Linked DNA regions of Homo sapiens: region 1 is linked to region 2. The links are contacts of gene promoters, found by promoter capture Hi-C in blood cells and fetal thymus (Javierre and others, 2016). All regions are on one chromosome and are shown on one strand. The core of a region is centred on a gene start or on the middle of the fragment in contact, and the rest is flanking DNA. Distances in the headings are between cores, read along the strand shown.

What was found. Contacts are between HindIII fragments. The CHiCAGO score rates a contact against its expected background, and 5 or more counts as called.
Region 1: a contact is called between a fragment that was not itself captured here and the fragment with the promoter of C8orf90 in region 2, in 1 of 17 cell types (M0 macrophages). The highest score is 5.0, in M0 macrophages.

The regions. Positions count from the first base shown.
Region 1 is chr8:142,424,988-142,428,135 of GRCh38, reverse strand. No RefSeq gene overlaps it. Among named protein-coding and RNA genes, the nearest start is that of ADGRB1, 23 kb to the left of the region's middle. RefSeq lists an enhancer at 197-971. The HindIII fragment of the contact is 5,778 bases long and covers 1-3,148 here.
Region 2 is chr8:141,512,708-141,515,962 of GRCh38, reverse strand. C8orf90 (chromosome 8 open reading frame 90) reads right to left here and starts at 1,292. Exons shown (of 2, transcript NM_001395960.1): 1 at 1,188-1,292. The coding sequence starts at 1,266. LOC105375791 (a long non-coding RNA gene) reads left to right here and starts at 1,748. Exons shown (of 3, transcript XR_928727.1): 1 at 1,748-1,807; 2 at 2,055-2,105; 3 at 2,414-3,255. RefSeq lists a silencer at 1,400-1,694. The HindIII fragment of the contact is 11,475 bases long and covers 1-3,255 here.

The DNA.
Region 1 (3,148 bases), core at 416-2,915, 910 kb before region 2:
CGGGCGTGTCTGGTGAAGGCGCCGTTGGCAGCTAGAGAGAGACGGCGGATGGGGTGACGCCATTACCCACGGTCCCAGTTTTGAGGCTTGACGGTGACGGAAAAGGACGTCGGTGCTGGCCACGGCTGCTGTGGAGGTGGTGCTGAAGCTGATGGGGGTGGCACGAGGTTTGTCAGGAGGACAGTGAAGACGCTGTGCCGATGGAGTGTGCCCAGAAAGACGGCGAGGGGGCCGTCAGGAGGGGCAGCCCTGGTGCTGGTGTTGGCAGGTGACGAGAATCACAGAGGTGCCGTGGAGAAAGGGAGCGAGGATCTTCCCCGAGGCAGGGCGGGCTCCAATCCCAGCTCCAACCCTGAAAAGCCCTGGGCCAGTCCCCACAGTCAAGCCCTGGGCCAGTCCCCACAGTCACGGTCACGCGCGTACAGCCAGAATATCCCACGTGGGAAGAACCGAGGGCCTGGGGGTGGGAGGGAAAGCAGGCTCCGTGCTGAGGCAGGCTGGCAGTGACGCAGGTGGAGGTGGCTGAGAGAGGACAGACGACGCAGGTAATGACGGAGGAGGCGTCCCTCCACAGGGCCAGGCTCGCCATGGGCCTGGGCAGAAGGCACTGTTGGATCCAGCCGCTAACATGGGTAGGTCCACAGCTCAGAGCCCAGATCCTTGGCCAGGATCTGTGGGGGCCCAGGGCATGCCACCAAGGCTATGATGAGGATGTACTCGTACACACACAGACTCTGTGTGTGTAAGGAACGCAATCTCAGCACACGCCCACGTGCACGCCCTCCAGTGCCACATCCCAGCCTGCACTCCCTGCAGTGTCTGGAGTGTGTCAGGCAGGCGATGTGGGTCACGAACGGGCTTGTGTAACTCATTGTAACTCATCCCCCCGGGCTGACCTCCGTAGTACCAGAGGTCGCTGGTGACTTGCTGGCCCCAGATTTAGAGGGTGTGAAGAACAGCAGCTCCCCAAATCCTGAAGAGGTGGAGAAGGTTGTTTTCCCAAAAATAAAAGGAATAAAAGACACAGGCTGTCTCCTGCCCCATCCCTGTCCCTGGCCTGGAGGAATGGAGGCCACATGGGCGGAGGCCGGTGAGCCGTGCTTGGAACTTGCTGATCTGAGACATTCCACACCTTCCCTCCCTTCAGCCACCACGTGCCCCCAAGCATGGTACCTCACCAGCACCAACGGCAGCGAGGGTCTGCACCAGGTTGGTTGGCACAGACATTGGGATTGTGGGACAAAGGAAATCTGGGAGAGGAGGGGGCTTGGCTCTCTGAGACTCCCGTGAAACTGAGGTCCCGCTGGGCCCCAGGGAGGAGCCCCCTGCTCTCTCCCAGAGCAGAGATCTGGAGCTTGCCAACCACCTCCCCAGCACTCCCCTGGGCTTCAGCCACACCAGCCCCTCTACCCGCCTACCCACCAACCCCAGCTCTGAAGCCTGACCACCTGAGGATGTGCAAATCTCCCTGCCTACTGAAGTCTTTAGTCTTTGGTTGGGAATCCAGGTAGGGGTGAAAAGGGGAGGCCCATCCTGCAGAGGGGGAAGGGTGTGGTGCTGGGTTGGCCTGGGGACTGGTTCAAGTCCTGCACAGCCTGAGGCATGGGGGACCCAGAGCTGGATTCCTGACCTCTGCCCCCAGCCATAGCTAAACCCAAGGCTGGCGGGGGCCTGGCAAGCTCTGCTACGGATGGCCGAGGAGGGCATGGCCCTCTCTTGTGGTGTCAGCTGGTCTCCCTCAGGTCTGGCTGGACCCTGGCTCACCCCACGCCCCTTGCACTTCTGCCTCCACTAAATCTGTATGGAGAGTAGGGCATATTGGCGTGTGCCTGTATGCACACCCTCATGTGTATATGTGTGCACCACGTGTATACATGGGTGGGTACATGCATGTGCACACATGTTCAAGTGTACACGTGCAGCTTTGCGCATGCTCCTCGTGTGTGTAGGAGCATACAACATGCAGACACTCTGCGTACATGTGTGCACCCACTTGTATATACAGAATGCATATGCAAGTGCACACGTGTGTGTGCGTGGACATGATATGAGCATAAGGGCACGTGCACATGTACACCACACGCACATGGTGTACACATGGGTGTACAGGGCATGTGAATACACACATGGGGTGCAGGCATGTGCACCGGCATGTAAACACAGAGGTGCACACAGAGCCCATGTGTATATGCAAGTGCACATGTTTGTGTATCCTGTGTGCATGTGGTCAGAGGAAGGCAGCCCTGGGAAAGCTGGGAGGTGCGGTAACTAAATCTGAAGGGTACAGAGAGGCCATGCCATGCTTTCCACAGTTCCAGGGAAGGTGTGAGGTGCTCCCTGAGAATTTTAAATTGGGCCAAATGGAGCCTGGCAAAGGGCCCTGGGGTTGGGACCCAGGGGCTGCCAGGTTATCAGTCCAGGGGGTACCAGCTCTCCTCCTGGTCTGAGGACCTGTCCCCCATGCCCTCACCCACAGTATGGAGCACCCTTCCCTCCTTTCTCCCAGTGGGGCTCCTCCTCTAGGAAGTCTGCCTGGGTTCCCCAGGCTCACAGGCCAGCTGAAACACATGACTCTCCCACTGTATGTGTTGGGAAGTTTTCAGTGGCCTGTAACAGAAAACCCATAACAGAAAACCCAACTCAAGCTGGCTGAAACCACATGCAAGCAGATGGTGGATGGTGGATTAGCCTAAGCAAATGGAAAACCTGATGCTGTTGCGGGTTTTGGATGAAGCGTGATGGGGCCGCAGCTCTGCTCCTCTGACTCTCCATACTTTGCTTCTTTCCGACGTGTTGACTTGGCCTTCACGATGGCTCACTCCACGGAGCAGGATGACGTCAGCGTCTCTGGCCCTCAACTGCATCCCACACTGTTCCTCCTCATCTCTGTCTTATACCTCATGGTCCAAGGTGACTGCTGGAGCTCCAGCTGTCACACTCACCTTCTGTCCATCAGGAAGGAGCAGAGGAGAAGAGCGGCCTACACTGCTCTTTAAGGGTACTTCCTGGAGGTTGCACACATCACTTCCTATGCATCCCATCGGTCAGAAATTAGTCAGGCTGTGAAGTGAAGTCTTTATTCTGGCAACTACTCACCCAGCTTAAGACCCAGGATTCTATTCCCCAGGGGCCACTGGCAGCTCATGCT
Region 2 (3,255 bases), core at 43-2,542:
AGCAGCACAGTGTGAGGAGAGAGACGATGGGGGCTTAGAGGGAGAGAAGGTGCGAGGTGGTTGCTAGGTGAGGAGAGGCTGGGCAGACCAGGGAGGGCAGCGGAGCCGGCCTCCTTGCTGCTGAAGCCAAGTGCAGGCATTAGCAAGGTGGAGTTCACTCAGCTGCAGCCCACTGCAAGGGCACAGGCAAGGGTAGCAGGGAGTTGGAGCTGCCAGACTAGTACAAGAAAACAGGAGAGGGGCCAGCGAGGGGGCAGAGGCCATGGCAAAGATGTGAGGAGGGGTGGAGGAGGCCAGACAGGTGGAAGACACTGTGGGCTTCCACCTCACTAAAGGAGTGCTGGGGCTGGCCCTCGAGGGCAGGAGCTGGGGCAAGAATCCCCAGAGTGCGGTGGGGACAAGGGGACTGCAGTTTGGGTACAGTTTGTCGGGTGGGTGGCTGGGTGAGAGGACAAAATCCTTACAGGAGTCCGAGGGGCTGAGAGAAATCACCAATAGGATGACAGGAGAGCTAGGGAGAGGGCAGGGCAGGGGCCAGGGTCTTTAGGAGTGAAGGCATTGACCATGAGCAGGGTGCACGGATGGGTGGGCAGATGAGTGGGTGGAGGAGTGGGTGGATGGGTGGATGGATGGATGGATGGATGGATGGATGGATGGATGGATGGATGGATGGATGGATGGATGGATGGATGGATGGATGGATGGATGGATGCATGGATGGTTGGGTGGATGGATGGATGGGTGGGTGGGTGAATGGGTGGGTGGATGGGTGGATAGATGGGTGAGTGAATGGATGGCTGGCTGCCCCTCCCACTGCCTCTGAGATCCAGAGCTGAGTTTTAGAAGAGGCAAGGGCAGGAGAATGATCCGGAAGGGGCCCTAAAGAGTGAGAAGGACCCTGCACACCTCCAGGTCCATAGATCCAAAGGCTTCAGGAAGAGAGCCAACCCCTTCCCTGGGGACTTCAGAGCATCAGAGCATTGGGGAGCGTAGGGAGGAGAAGGACCTTTACAGGGAGGCTTTGATGCCCGCATGCCCCCATCCTGGCCCAGCCCCACTGCCACTCTCCTTCATGACCTTGGCAGAGCATCTTCTTCTGGAAGATGGGTCAGAGGGCCGCTTCCTGCTCCCACATTCTCAGAGCCCCAGGTGCCCCGTCCCCCTTCCCGTCCATTCCCCTCCCTCACCAAGTGTCTCGCCTGGAGTGGCTACAGAAGGAGGGGGCAGACCTGCTGGGCTGGGGGTCCCAGGACAAGAGGAGGCCATGCCAGCAGCCCGGGAGACAGGCTTCTGTTTACTAGGCTGCCCAGGAGACGGGGAGGGGCCTCCCAGGGGAGGACAGAACCTTGCGTTTAAAGGGCCTCCACTCAGGAGTGGGCTGGGGCTGTGGGGGAGGCTGAGTGGGGACCTGTGGGCTCAGTGGCCTCTTGCGCACTAAACTCTCTGTGGGCATCACTGCAGCCCCTCACCCAGCACCCTGCCCCTCGCCTGGACCCTGCAGGGCCACCCTCTGGGCCAGCCTCCCATCCTTAACCCTTCCCATTGCACCCAGCAACCCTCCGAGATCAATCCCCAGTCACATCTGCTCACCTGCCCTGCTCAGAGACCATGAGAACCTGGCACCCAGAGACCGCCAGCCTGTCCCCACCAGCACTCTTCCTCCTGACTCACCTCGGGTCAGCCTGGTGTCCACAGCCGCAGCCTGTGAGTGCTCTCAGGGCAGCCGAGGCCTTGATCCAGCCTCAGCTGGCCTGTCCCTCCAGACCACGGGGCTCCCACAGGCATTCCCGAAGTCTTCAGAGCCCAGGTCAGCAGTCCCCATCTTCAGCAACTCCAGTAGTCCCTATGAAGCAGGTCAGACCTTGCCTCAGCCACAAAGAGCTCATGGGGATATCAGTTCCCCCAAAGTGGGATCAAGTGCTGGTAGGGGTGGGGACATGAGACAGAGAAGGGAACAAAGCCTGGGAAGACGCATCCCAGCACAGTTTTACCGGAGATGGCCTCAGAGCTACCCCGCCTGCCCAAACAGCCGTGGGCTGCTGTATCCCCAGCAGGTGTGGCTTGTAAGGAGCCTGGCAGCCAGAGATGGCCTCAGGGAAAGAAAGGTAAGTGCTCCCAGGGGCCTGAGCTGGGGCCTGGCTCTTCACAAGGAGAACCCCAGCCACAGACTGGGATGTGATTGAGCAGTCAATGCCCCTGGTGTTTGAGTGTCACTCATGCCAGGCTCTCTGTTACCACAGCCTCTAATACAGCAGGGCTGTGACGCAGGACAGGACGGGGCTTGACTGGGGAGCAGGGGCCCCTCCCCTCTCCTGGTCTCTGTATTTTTGCACCTCCACATCTCTGTGCAGTTGCCTTGAGAGGGTGCCCTTCCCACTCTCCTCTGCAATGCAAACTCATGCTCCCCCTTCAGGTTCTGGCTCATATCACCTCCTTCAGGAAGCCCACCTGGCCTGCTCTGTACCTGAGAGCCTCCCAGGCCTGGCTGGCACCCCATCAGAAGTCATCTGTTTGGATATGGTCCCTCCATTGCCTTCCATGGGCTCCCATGTGTCCTGGTGATGACCTCAGGCTGCACATGGTCCCATGTCCAGGGCCCTGCCCCTCGGGGCCACACCCTCTGAGCAGCCCAGGCTCCAGCTCCCTCCGCTGAGATTCCTAGGTCAGTGCCAGCCTCAGACTTAGGAAGGTGGGCATGCGGGAGGCAGGGAAGGCCAGGGTTGTCATGGCAAAACCCTGTACCCATTCTGTCTTCCCACCCCCCTGAGAACCCCTCAGGACAGGCCTGGGCCATATCCTCTGGGCCAGACTTAAAGAAAGGCCTGCTCAGCCCCAGCAGGTGAGCTGGAACCCTTCTCCCCAGACAAGCCACACTCCATGCCCTCCCCCACCTCCAGCAAGGCTGGGGTGCAGCCCAGGAGACCCAGCAGAGGCTGAAGCCCAGCCCTCCAGGCACCTGTAGGCAGGAGCACACCCAGCTCTCGGACCTCAGAATCAGCCGTGGTGAGTGTGGTCCTGTATTCACATGGCCAGCATGTGTTTTCCACCTTCCTGTGCTCCGGCCAGGTGGCCCCCCGACACCAATTCTCAAGGCAGGCGCAGGTCAACTTCAGCTCAGCCTGGTGGGCTCCGGCCGAATGATGGTCCTGAATGGCAGCTCAGCTATCAATATCATTGTGTGACTACAAGAGGAAGAAACAGTTCATCCTGACATGCTCATTCTGCAGACCGCCACTGAGCACCTCCTGGGGACCA